Linked DNA regions of Homo sapiens: region 1 is linked to region 2. Evidence: promoter capture Hi-C in 16 types of primary human blood cells and fetal thymus (Javierre and others, 2016). All regions are on one chromosome and are shown on one strand. Each heading gives the region's core, a stretch centred on a gene start or on the middle of the fragment in contact. The rest is flanking DNA. Distances are from core to core; before and after follow the strand shown. Region 1 overlaps HHAT (hedgehog acyltransferase). Region 2 holds the start of KCNH1-IT1 (KCNH1 intronic transcript 1).

Region 1 (6,355 bases), core at 2,014-4,513, 510 kb before region 2:
GACGTATTTATGTCAATTAAGACAATTCATATTTTCTTAATCCATTTTGGATCTTCCTCTGTCTCCCAACTTCCTCTCACCCTGCCTCCCTAGTTACTGCTAGTTGAGTCAGTAATACCCAGAAAATATCTTCCTCTGCTTTAGAATGCAGAAAGTGGTAGATTAATGTCCCATTATTCTCAGAGGTGAAGAGTGCTGAATAATAAGCCTGCTCCTTCCCCATTTCTCTCTCATTAACAGTTTTCACACCATGTAGTTATCTCGTACCAGGTCTTGTCTGACAGTGTCCTCTTGTACGTGCCTGTGGCCTCCTAGAGCAGGGGCAAGACTAGAGGTAATCTTGCCTGGTGGCCTCTAAGTAGAGACACCCTACATCACTGGAGAGCATTCCAGAACAACCATGATCGGGCAGACATCTCACTGTCCACTGCACAGCTTCTCTGTGAGCAGGCCACACTTGCGTCTGGCAGCAGTAAAAGCACGTTCCACAGTGATGTTGGAGCAGAGAGCCGTGGGTGGGGAGATGGGGTGACAGAGGGTAGCAGCCAGATCTGAGAGTTAAGAACAGACCCTGGGGCTGGCAGGAGAGAACAGGAGGAGTCAGAAATTCATTTCTCTAGATGGAGAGGACACTGACCATGATGCCAAAGCAGTCACAGGAGATTCACAGTAGGGCCGCATAATAAGTAAGCCTCTTGCTGAAGACTCGCCCTCCAATTTAGTCCTTTTTGCCTGTCATGAATTGCATCGGCTGCTGTCATTGAGTCATTCCGAGTTCTGTTTGTAATTGGAACGCAGCTGAAATTAGGGTGCACGTGACCCTAGAGATGTGTGGGTTTCTGGAGGATATTCAGGAAATATCTCCAGACCCTTTGCTCCCTCTTTCTCTGTGTCTGTGGATTAGGCGGAGGTGCTTATCAGATACCCTGGGCCCCTGCATGTCCCGCTGCTGTGCTGTACCTGGTTCTCATTCTGAACACACGGTCCCTTGGGGTGGTCCCCGTGCATGTGCTGATAGGGCTCGCACACTCCAGCACAGCGACCTCACTCAGAGGGGCTCCCAGAACAGTCAGGATAAAGGCTTTGTTTGCTTTATGAAATCCCTGGGAAAATCTTAAAAGGAGAAGTGCAATAAAGAGCTAGGAAGGACAAGTGGAATTCTTTATTGTGATGCTGTAAAACACCCCTCCAGCCTTGAGTATTTCAGGCACGCCGATACACTTCATCCTCAGTGCCGACGTGTGCTGCGGGTGAAGTGTGGGCCTGAGCTCTGACTCCAGCAGTAGGCTCGGCTCACACTCATTGTCCTACACTCTTATTATGAGATTGCTCTTAATAGCATGTCAGGTTTAGGGGGTGGTTGGATGGCTTCCCAGGGTCAGTGTAACTGGCCCAGGGGATCATGCTGATCTTGACCTAATTCCATGGAGCTATATATACTAGTTATCACAGACAGCAGTTTGAAGTTCTTGCACCTGTAGGTTTACATGCAGAAAGCAAGTGGAGGTGGGAGGGCTGCTAAATCCTAACTGGCTTCAGTGCTTGTATTCCACATGTCAGAGGGAAGCCCTCGCATTTTGTTCCACCTCAAAGAAACAACTTGGGGTATGTCACTTCTTTCCTTAGGGTAGAATGAACATGGTGCAAGAGTACACTTTTGTTTTGTTTCGAGACACGCTCTTGTTCTGTCACCCAGACTTGGAGTCCTGTGGTGTGATCATGGCTCACTGCAGCCTCGAACTCCCGGGCTGAAGCAATCCTCCCACCTTAGCCTCCCGAGTAGCTGGGACTACAGTCATATGCCACCATGCCCAGCTAATTTTTAAATTGTTTTTGTAGAGATGGTATATCACTATGTTGCCTAGGCTGGTCTTGAACTCCTGGGCCCAAGTGATCCTCCCACCTTGGCCTCCCAAAGTGTGAGATTATAGGCATGAGCTGCCACGCCCAGACAGGAATTGAAGTTTTGAGAGCTGTTTAAATAATGACCTGGTTTGGGCTCTGTGGGGAGGCGTCCTGGGCTGGTGACAGAGAAAGCTGGATGGTATCTTAGCCCCATTTTTTCCACCCTTGTCATGAGATGCTTTCTTGCCATTTTTCCCGTAGGCCCGATACTTCTCCCCACAAGCTCGCCGTCGATTCCACGCTGCCCTTGCTTCTTGTTCCACCTCGATGCTGATCCTGTCCAACCTGGTATTTCTTGGGGGCAATGAGGTTGGGAAAACCTACTGGAATAGGATCTTCATACAAGGTAAGTTGCTTGACAGTGCTGTTTTCAGTCAGTTTCTTGTTTTCCATGTATGCGGATGGGATCATACATGGGATGGATGGGATTTGGGGGAAGTCATTCATTGTTATGTTCATGGCATGTGACCTCTAAAGTACCAGCCAGGAATAATTTCCTAAGTTTGACTATGACTTTAAGTGTCCCCTGTTTTTGAGGTACCCCATATCTCCTGTATGTGATACTTGTTTAACACCAAAAGGTATTATTCCAACTCTCCCAAAGTGTATATTCCCTTCCATTACACTATGTTTCCAATTATTTGATATTTCTTAATCTTTCCTACTGCTGTGGTTGAATATTCCCTTCAAAACTCATGTTGAAACTTAATCCCCAATTGGCATTATTAAGAGATGAGGCCTTTAAGAGGTGATTGGATCATGAGGGGTCTGCCCGCATGAATGGATTAACCCATTCATGGATTAATGGGTTATTATGGAAGTGGGACTGGTGACTTTACAAGAAGAGGAAGAAAGACCTGAGATAGGATGCTCAGCCTCCTCATCACGTGATGCCCTGTGCTACCTGGGGACTCTACAGAGAGTTCCCACCAGCAAGAAGGTCTTCACCAGATGCAGCCCCTTGACCTTGGACTTCTCAGCTTCCGTAACTGTAAGAAATAAATTCCATTTCTTTATAAATTATACAGTTTTAGATATTCTGTTATAATCAACAGACAACAAAGACACCTACTGTCTGTGGGTCCTAGCCTGCAATATACTGCAAAATCTAACCTTGTTTTGTTTATTGCTCTGAACGTCCTACTAGGAATTTGCCCTAGAAGCTTCCTTGTGCTCTCCTGAAGCTGTGGGCATGGCATCTGTGTTTGCCACAGCTCTTGGTTGTGGGTATTTTTGTGTGAATACTAGGGGCCAACCTTATGTTTAATGTGCATTAAATAGATAATCTGAATATCCAAAGCAAAACCATACTTGCAGCAGGTAAACTGCTACTATGTGGGAGTTGTCAAAACATTCTATTAATAATTGATCGTTGTTTATTTATGGTCACCATTTCCCTTGGGCTGGGACTGAGTTACATCATATCTATAAGAGAATTGGGAGATTTGGAACTACTCATGGTACATACTACTATAGCCAACTTGCTACATCTTAAAAGAGAAGATCCCTGCTCTGTTCCCTGCCCAGTGACACAGTCTTGTGCTTTTGCTTTGGGAAGCTTTGCCAAGTGGTGATGACATAACTCTGCACAGCTGGCCCATTATCTCCACATCTGGGTCCCTGAGGAGGCAGCGGTGCTTTTGCTGCAGCTCTTTTCACACCAGAAATAACAGCAACACAGCTGCAGTATTCCAGAATGGCAGACCATGGGCCTAAACTGTGGCAGCCTTGGGTGAGCCAGGCTCAAAGGGCCAAGAGAGAGTCCTGTTCTACTTTAATCTTGTCACTAAAAGACCCCTCTTTGATCTTGTTTTCTGTGCGATGTTTTAGCTGATAGTTCCTGAAAAGACCACGTACTTTCTAAGCGAAAGCTGTCCTTTAATAAAGATGAGAGATAATAGGGCATTATGGATCTAAAGATAAAGGTGGGTTACAGCATCCTTTACTTTTCTTGGCTCCTCTCACAGAACCTAGCACAATGATAAGAACATTGTGACTTGGTGGGGGGAAAGTGCGGACTTGGTTTGCTTGTCACATAATGAGGAGGCTCTGATTTTCGCTTCCCTAAATCAAATGCATTGGATGTTTGCTACTTGCGAGGCACTGAGAACACAGAGATGAAAAAGGAAGCTCACACGAATGTGAGTGCCAAACACACAAAAATGTGCAGTAGATTCAGGGAATTGCTCTGCTGGATGTATGAGTGAGTTACTGGAGGTCACAGGATAGAGTAGCTGACTTTCCACAGAAGATGGGCTTTTCAGAAGAGGTGGCATTTGAATTGAAGTAATAATTTAGGAGTTTGCTAGGTAGAAAAGGCAGGCATATCAGGGAAATTAACACTGGCTGCTTTGTGTGAAACTCCAAAATCTTAGTAATTTCTCACCATAGAAGTTTGTTTCTCTGACAGTTCAATACAAATCCAGTGGCTTTTTCTAAGCAGTGACTCCAGGACCTAGAATCTTTGTTTTGATTCTCCACTGTCTTGTGCTGGCATCATGGAGGGGAAGAGAACATGAGACTGGTGCACCAGGTGCTCAAACATGTGACATTTCTGCTTACATGTCATTGGCCAGAGCCAGTCATATGACCAACCCAAGTACAGGGCAGGGGTGTGTAGGGAAGCATGCAGATATCAGTGTGCACCAGCTGTCTATGGCACAGCAGGAGAGGCACATGGGCCTGGTCAGAAATGCCCAAGAGGCAGTTGGAAATATGAGTTGGAGAAGATGGTGGGACCAGTGATTGAGATGTGTGGGGGTCAAGGGCGTAAAGATTGTATGTGAGGCCAGGGGAGTAGACACAATTAACCACGGAGCTGTGTAGAATGAGAAGAGAACAGGTGGGAGAAACCCCAGGGAATGCTGGTATTGAAGGGGGCAGAGAGAAAGGCAGGAAGATCAAAGTGTGACTTGCCTGACATCCTATGGAGTTAACCTCAGTCACATGGGATTGGGCTCTGAAAACCCGGTCTGCTGCTGCCTCATGGGACCAGCTATGGTCTGTGACTGAACGCACTATTTGTGTCCTCCTTGGACTCAGGTGCCACAGCCCTGGGAACTCTGATTCTATAAAAGTGGAGGGCTCTGTGGAATCATCTCTCTTCTGGGTTCTGAGGCCAGAGAAACTCAGCTTAGAAGGCTTTTTCTATGTCAGTGATTATCCAAATGAGCCTGTTTGCATCTCTGCTGGTCTGTCCCATGGGCCTCCTGAGTCAGGGAATGTCTGCTGGGGTTTTGGCAGTTGCCGCTTCGTCTATTCCTTGCTGTGGGTTTTTGTCCCTGAAGGATTGGGTTTAGATATCTCTTGGAGGAAAGTGAACCAGATGGTGCCCAATCTCCCATCCTGGAGAACTCTGGATTTCATTTCATAACTAATTTGACTTGATAGAAGATTAATATGAATATTCATGTTTTGGTGAAAAAAAATAATGAGTCTATACGATGCTCCCTCAGTCTCTGCTGGGGGTGTTCATATATGAGCTTTCTAAAGTTAAAAAAATCTGAATTCCGAAACTCATCTGACCCCAAAAAGTTTAGTTAAGGGATTGTCAAACTGTATATGGAGTTGTTGACAAATGTGCACCTTTGACAGCCTTGTAGTCTTGGCATCTTCCCTGGGACACATGATCAGTTCCTGTTGCTCCAGAGCCCATCTTTACACACTGAGGAAATAGAGTGAAGCGAGTGAGAACGCTGACTTTAGGCATGGAGAGCATTTAAGCTCAGTGTCTAGATTTCCAGGTTTAAGGGAAAGGTGGCCCTTCCCTCTGCACCTTGATGGGTTGGGACCTGCTGCAGCAAGAGGGAGGAACCACTGACACCACATCCCTCTAACAGGTCTCACCTCAGAGTCCTGGAAGAGCAGGAAGGGGCAGACGGGTATCTAGGAGATAGGGATTATTGAGGAGATTTGCACACACCTCACAGCTAATGGGGTGTGGATACACATGTGTCTTAAAAGATACACCTCATTGTTTCCCAGGGAGCCCTCTCCTGGCATCACTGATGTGCCTAGAAGTATCTCATGATTCGCCTGGAAAAGTTGTCTTAAAATTGGTATCTTCCTGTCACCAGTTCACTTGAATTTAGCCATAGATTTGCTTGCTCTAAACTACAAAGTTTATTTTAGTGATTTCCATGAAAATGTCTGTCCTGGTCTCTGTGGGTCATATGGGTGATATGAGGCTGTAAAACCAGACCCTTCCCTTTCTGTTGTGCCCCTGCCCTGCTGTCTAAAGAGTGGAAGACAGAGTCTGAAGGCAAGGGATAGAAATGCTCAGTGGCAAACCTAGGGCTCTGGTAATATGTCATCCACAAAACAGTTTTGGTCAGGAAGTGTTACCTCTGCTGCTGAGGTTGAAGAAGTAGTGTTCAGTTTATTCAGCAGAAAATAAGGAATCTATGTTTTTGCTTTAAAAAAAACTCCAAATTTTTAATATTGAAGTTTA
Region 2 (6,643 bases), core at 818-3,317:
AATAGTTCCACAGACTAAGTCATAAAAGCTGGAGAAATTATAATGCTGAGAGAAGGATATATGATAGATGTCCTCTAAGGAATACCAGCCTCAGGCATTGTTTGCTCTGCCACTTTGAATAAGCCACTTAATATTCCTAGGACTCAGTTTTCTGATCTGTAAAAGAGGAACATTAATACTGCACAGGACCACTGGGAGAAAATATCTAATAAAATGATCATAAAATATTGCTATTCAAAGGTAAAATGCTATTTTAATACCGTAATGTCCAAAAAAGGGCTCATGGATTTTAGAATGAGACAATCAATATCTTTAAATAGACTTTTTCCACCACAGTAAAATAATATAATGCATGCAGATATTGTGATATTTCTAGGAGTTCACATTTTTTCTTCCATTTGTGTTCAGGAAATATTATAAAAGGGATCACCTTTTAAACATTGAGTCCCATATTTCAAGATGAGAACCATTTATTCTGAAATAATAATTTTAAAAATTCATCCAACTCTCCCAAGATGCTTCATTTTTTTTGATGCTATTCATTTGATTGGTTAATTGAAATCAACCTGCTGAAACTGGTGTTGAAATGACAATGCCCATCCTAAAAATATTCCCAGTGACTTATTCTATTCACATTCTATGATTACAGAGGGAAAGTGGCTCTAATAAGATCAACTAAAATAGACAGTATTCTGCCTTCACAGCTCCAAGATTCTTAAGGTTCCCTTAAAACCCAAGGCATCTTGTGACTTTTACATGTAAGTTTCTCTTCCTGCTCCCTCCACTCAAAAACATACACAGTATACATTAGGTACTGGGTTTCCCCTCTAACTTACAGGGCACTGCCTCTTTACTGAAAAATAGAATTGTCATTGATATTTATGAGAAAGTTGGTGTCACTGACAATGGGATAACCAAATTTGCAAGATTGTCTCCATACCCCTTAATAGTCCAATAAAAATAGCAATAATAGCACAGTAACTCTTATTTTATTTAAAAATAAATGAACAACTCCAGCTTTTTTATGGCAAAACAGTTCATTGTGGCTGTTCACATAGCAATTATCATCCCCTTGCATCCCCAGGTAATGACTGTGACCTTGACCTAAAAGCCACCTTAGTTTGAATAAGGAAGACCTTGAAAGGAAAGGTGACTGACCAGAAACACTCTTAAGAGGCACACAATAAAGAAATGATCATTTCTAAGAAAGTACTTAAATAATACGTGATTATTTGCTATGCTAGTTGATGTGTTTCATTATAAGATAAACTTAAATCACTGTTTAATTAAAGAGTGTTTATTAGTAGCATAAGTCACTTTTCATGCCCTTCCCCTGAATCCCTAACTAAATCCAAACAGAAGCTCATCATTTTACACAGAAGCTCCTTAGACTCTGAAATCGTGATATTTACACATTATTAAAACCCATTTCCTAAGTTAGCTCCTCATGTCTCCCTGGTAGAAGAATGTCATCTGTTTCTGGAAGGGGTGGGGTGGGGGCTCTAGGAGTCTGCAAAGAGCATCTTATGCTTGGCTATCTTTCAATATAGCCATTTGATGAACTCGTGCGCTGCGCCTTCCAACTGCCAGGACTCCTAGTCGCTCTGCAAGTGCTTAGTTGGGGTCTCTCCTCTGTTAAGTCCGAAAGGCGTTTGGAATTCTTCCTTTCCATCCCCGCTCCTAGGACTCTCGCCTCTCAAGGCTTCATGCTACCGTCGATCTTAATGCCACAAGGAAACAGATGAGTGCTGATTGTCAGTTTATTGGGTAATGGATCTATTTATAGGTTTGGTGAGATTGGGAATTTATAGGTGAGCAACACTTAAGGGTGGCATAAAACCGTTGTGGGTTTGGAAGAGGGGAAATATAACAGGTTTGTACCTGTGACCATTTAGTTCGCTCTGCACCTGTGCCCTCCACTTCCCACCTGACGCCAGGAAAACCATCTGCCCCTCACTTCGAAGGTGAGCCTTAACTTCACCTAGAAAGTGGTGGGTGGGTGAAGGGGTGGAATCAGGCCGCCGAGAGCACGTCCCGACACCTCGGACTTTTCAGTTGCAGGGATGGAAGGTGGAGGCAGCCGGATCCTCCCATTCTGAGGCAGCGGGGACCTGGAGTTGCCCGTCTCTACTGCTGGCTCTCCCTGGGGAGAGGCGGCGCCTCTGGGAGCAGCCCGGGAGCCCCAGAGCCTTCGCGGAAGGGTGGGCAGTGCCGATGGGGCGCGCGCTGCCGCTCCGGCTGCAGCCAGCTTTCCATCACTTTTCCCAGTACTTTGCTCAGCAGCTGTCACGCATCCTTGGAGATAAGACCGAGAGGGCGCTAGAAAGGCCCAAAAGGCGTCCCCAGAAGAGCTCTCCTGTTAGGATGGGGACCCATCAGACCCCGCCCCGCCCTGCCCACCTTTCTCTGCCTCGGGGAGGCTGCCCTGGGTGCCCGCGCCGCGGCTCCTTAGCAGAGCTCGCGGGTTCTGCTGCATCTGCTGGCTCCGAGCGGCGAGAGGTTCTGCAATAAAGGCACGGATAAAACGCCCGGGTAATCGAAATCCGAATGCACCTCTTACCATTGGACCGCCGAACAATATTCTCCAGAAACGTGTTTTGAGGGGCCACTAGTCCCCTCCTGCCCCCAGCCATGGTCATCCTCCCAGCAGCTCGGGGTCCGGCGGGCGTCCTGGCGCGGCTTCTTACGACAGCAGGAAACTGGCCTCGGGGCCCGCACGCAGTCCCGGCTCGAAGCGCCCCATGCGCCCGGCGGGGATCCGCAGGCAGGGCTGGCGGCTCCCTCTGGCTGCTACCCTCGCGCCCTCTTCGCGCCTCCCTCCCTGCGGCCCGCCTCGCAGTGCACTCGCGCCGGCCTCGGCTAGCGGCAGCCGCCTCCGGGTGGGCGGAGGGAGCAGCGGCGCCTGGGCCGGCGGCGCCCCCTACCGGGCTCGTGCCCCACCGCCGGCCTGCGGGAGACCAAGCTGGGGGGCTCCCGCAGAGGCAGGGAAGTGGCGGGCGGCCGTGGACCAAGGCTGGGACGGCAGCGCCACCCTCTGGGTTCAGCCGGGAAATGTGTTCAGGATGTGCCATGGGCTGGGTGGAGAGGAGGGCATTGTGAGCAGCTTTCAGGGCGGATTCACCCCCAACAAGTCTTAGGGGAGCGTGCTGATGTAACTCTCTTCCTTTGCTCTGTTTCAGGCCGGGGCCCCCGGGACCTGTGAGGCTCTGGGAACACCTTCTTGCCTTCCTGTAAGGTTAGCCTGACTAGTGAAAGTTGCCCCACCTTGATTCTAGGCCAGTGTTTGAGCAGTAATTAATGAAGTCGTATTGCAATAGTGCAGATTTAGAGTGACTGGCAGATTCAGCTTCAGAAGAGTTGTCTTGGGTTGTTTTTACCGTAGACACAAATGCAGGCTCCTGATGTTTGGTATGATCAGTATCAAACTGCCTGACAAACATCAAAGGGGTGGACTTGTCTCTAAGGGCGAATGCTCAGGAGAGGGGCAGCATTAATTAAGCAACCGTGGCTTTGGCTTGAAGGGTAGTCTGTAGTGCAGAGGATACAGTTAGTTTTTACAGCTGACCCCTGGTATACGGAAGAACCACATACACCCAAGGTTTCTGGACAGGGGCTAAGACAACGGTCGTTTGTTCACTTATTTTGGGGGATTTCGACCCACACATAGTCTGTACCTGCCTTTTTACTATGTATCCCCAGTCGGTGCGGTGGGAGACTAAGCCTATGTCCCACAGGAGAAATGAATGGAGAGTTTACTAGTTTCAGACTGAGTCAACAGTCAACACAAAAATGTAAGAGAAAAAAAAACTAACCCTGAAAATTAATTGTCTGGGTTAGCCATCCTGACATATCCTAATGTATTGCAAAGACATCCTGTCTCAGTTAATTAATTTCAAAAACAGAAGAACTAATTCTTGCCCAGAAATCTCTCAGAGTTGCTGTGAAGATCAAGCAAGAATTATGTATGGGGACAGCACCTTAAATTGTAAAGTGCTGTGCCAAGGTCAGACGTCATTATTGGAGTGACTAAATAAATTGGGCCATTACGAATATCACCCTTTATCTCGTCTTGTGTAGAGACAAAGTAAACAGATTGCTGTTAGCAGAGAGTTGGATAAGACTGTCATAGGATTTGAAATGCAAGTAATGATACACTTTTTCCTTAAGATAGCCTTCTACCCATCGCCTGTTACCTAGTCTAGAACAGTGATTTCTTAAACCCTAGCTCCGTCTAGTGGTTCTTTGTTCTATTACAAATGAGATAACACTGGTTGAAGAGAACTTGATTCTGAAATGTATTTGGTGCTGAGCTGAGCCAGTTTGGTGCCTATCCACTTCATTTGAATAAGTTCATTTAAATAAGGTTTTTAAAGTTGTGTTATCGCACAAACATGCCAAGGGAAGATTTTTCATGACAATATTAAAAACCCATCAAGAAACCTCATAATCCTGCTTGTGAAAGGAAGATAAAGAAAATAATGTGGAGGGGAAAACTATCATAGAGAGTTAATAAAATTTCTAAGGTTTTAATGAGCTCTCATGTTCTGTGGCTTAGATAAAAAAGGAAACAGATGATATTAGTTTGAGATCAGAGATGTTAAAGCCTTGGTGGGCAACCTGATGAGAAAAAGAAATAAGATGTCTTCCATTTTAAATGTACTACTGAAATGGATCTCAACATGGACTCTGTGTGTGTGTGTATGTGTGTGTGTATTGGCACCTTTTTGAATACTACAATTTTTGGTGGCACACTTGAAGAAATTAAAAGACCTAAAACAAAATAGTGCTACTACAAAGTGGTTCTTTTTTTTAAAGTTTTAAACCTCCAGATTGTGTGCCATAACACGATCACATTATTTTACGTCTTTTTGCTTAAATAAGACTGGATGCTTATAAAAGCACTGTTATACTGTGTTATGGCACTTTAAGTACTTGCTTAGAAATGATCATTTCTTCATTGTGTGCTTCTTAAGAGTGTTTCTGGTCAGTTACCTTTCCTTTCAAGGTCTTCCTTATTCAAACTAACTAAGGTGGCTTTTAGGTCAAGATCACAGTCATTACCTGGGGATGCAAGAGGAAGATAATTACTACGTGAACAGCTACAATGAACTGTTTTGCCATAAAAAAAAAAAAAAAAGCTGGAGGTGTTCATGGATTTTTAAATAAAATAAATATTTAAGAATTAAATTGCTAAAAAGTCAGCAGTCTTTCATCACAATGTGAGTGTCTCATGGTGTCTGTGGAGGTACATCCAGTTTTTCCCCCATTCCCTTGGTTCACTCACAACACATCTGACTGCAGGAATAAAATCATGTTCTGCCCTGTCCACAGCCACATTCTCAATATTCCAGTAAACACTCCCTCTTTCTTGGTGCTAGTTGACGGGATACTGTGCTTCTTACCTTTTACTTGCCACCTTTTGTTCCCTCCTTGACATTCAGTTCCAGCACCTGCTCAACTTAAAGTTCTGTCTGAGATCTACCTCTGTAATATGGGAATCTCAGTTAGAGTAAACTTTAATCTTACAGATTTGTCAAAACTTGGTAACAGATTTCTAAAGGATTCACAATATACCAATGTACCATGGCAAACCAATTGAGAACGCTTATATTTTTGCATAACAGACAAAGCCACTCCTTCATTTAAAGGGACAACTTTAAATAACTGTGACCAGAGTTCCAATTCAACTGCCTCTATCCTTCCATGCAGAAAATGTAGCCCATTTTCTGCAGGGATACAGAGTTCAGATACAGAGTCTGAAATAAATTCTAAAATGTGAGTCTACTATTTCTAGGCTTCTTTCCTCCTGTATCCCTCAGCATTTTGTTTACCCCTTAGCTATAAGATGTGTTTATGTCTGTATCACACCGTAGATTGTGAGCTCCTTGAAACAAAGACACACTATAACAATTTTTGTTCTTATAAATGCTATTAAGCTACACTGTAATTAGTGAGTTCACAAAAGTAATAGATAGTGATGAAGGCATAATGCTATAGGGAGAATATGGAGATGGTGATCTGCAGATTGGCTGGGAAAAGAGTCCAGGAGATGACAGAAAAATCTCTCCCAACAACAACAACAAGTCTATCAAATGAAGAGGATGACAATGCCACACATCAGAAGGGGCAAATGTTATCATATAAAGACAGGAACTTCATTTTTCCTTCCATTAAGACCACATGGTGTGGGTGACAGATTTTAGAAAGCCAGGAACCTCTCTAACATAGGAAAGTTGCCTGTGAGTCCTAGGTCTGCGAGCTGGAAGGGGCAGGCCATGGATGCATCGTCATTAGCAACTTAAGCGGAGGAGAAATTGAACATAGAGGCGACTTCACTACTCAGCCACCAGGAGTGAAATATCTAAATATCTAAAAGTGGAGGAATTTGCAGCATGAGAAATTTCAGCTTCTATAGCCCAATGACTGACTGACTTATTATATGTGATTTCTGTTAACAAAACTTCTATTTGAATAATCTTATAGGAAGAATGTTGGGCAGACTATATCCATTGAAAAAAAAAAAGATTCCCTGCTATAGATGTATTTCCCTAGTGTTGGGAGAATGGACAGAATCTGCTTCAAAGGAAATACTAGTCCCTGAATCTAATTGACTGGGGAAAAGAATGCACTGATGTGGGTCTAC

What was found. Contacts are between HindIII fragments. The CHiCAGO score rates a contact against its expected background, and 5 or more counts as called.
Region 1: a contact is called between a fragment that was not itself captured here and the fragment with the promoter of KCNH1-IT1 in region 2, in 2 of 17 cell types (megakaryocytes and erythroblasts). The highest score is 6.2, in megakaryocytes.

The regions. Positions count from the first base shown.
Region 1 is chr1:210,621,420-210,627,774 of GRCh38, forward strand. It overlaps HHAT (hedgehog acyltransferase), which reads left to right. Exons shown (of 12, transcript NM_018194.6): 11 at 2,107-2,251. Among named protein-coding and RNA genes, the nearest start is that of HHAT, 300 kb to the left of the region's middle. The HindIII fragment of the contact is 395 bases long and covers 3,067-3,461 here.
Region 2 is chr1:211,131,307-211,137,949 of GRCh38, forward strand. KCNH1-IT1 (KCNH1 intronic transcript 1) reads right to left here and starts at 2,068. Exons shown (of 2, transcript NR_046784.1): 1 at 1,882-2,068; 2 at 973-1,720. It overlaps KCNH1 (potassium voltage-gated channel subfamily H member 1), which reads right to left and starts at 2,842. Exons shown (of 11, transcript NM_172362.3): 1 at 2,561-2,842. The coding sequence starts at 2,639. RefSeq lists silencers at 632-832, 2,059-2,249, 2,744-3,023. The HindIII fragment of the contact is 10,582 bases long and covers 1-6,643 here.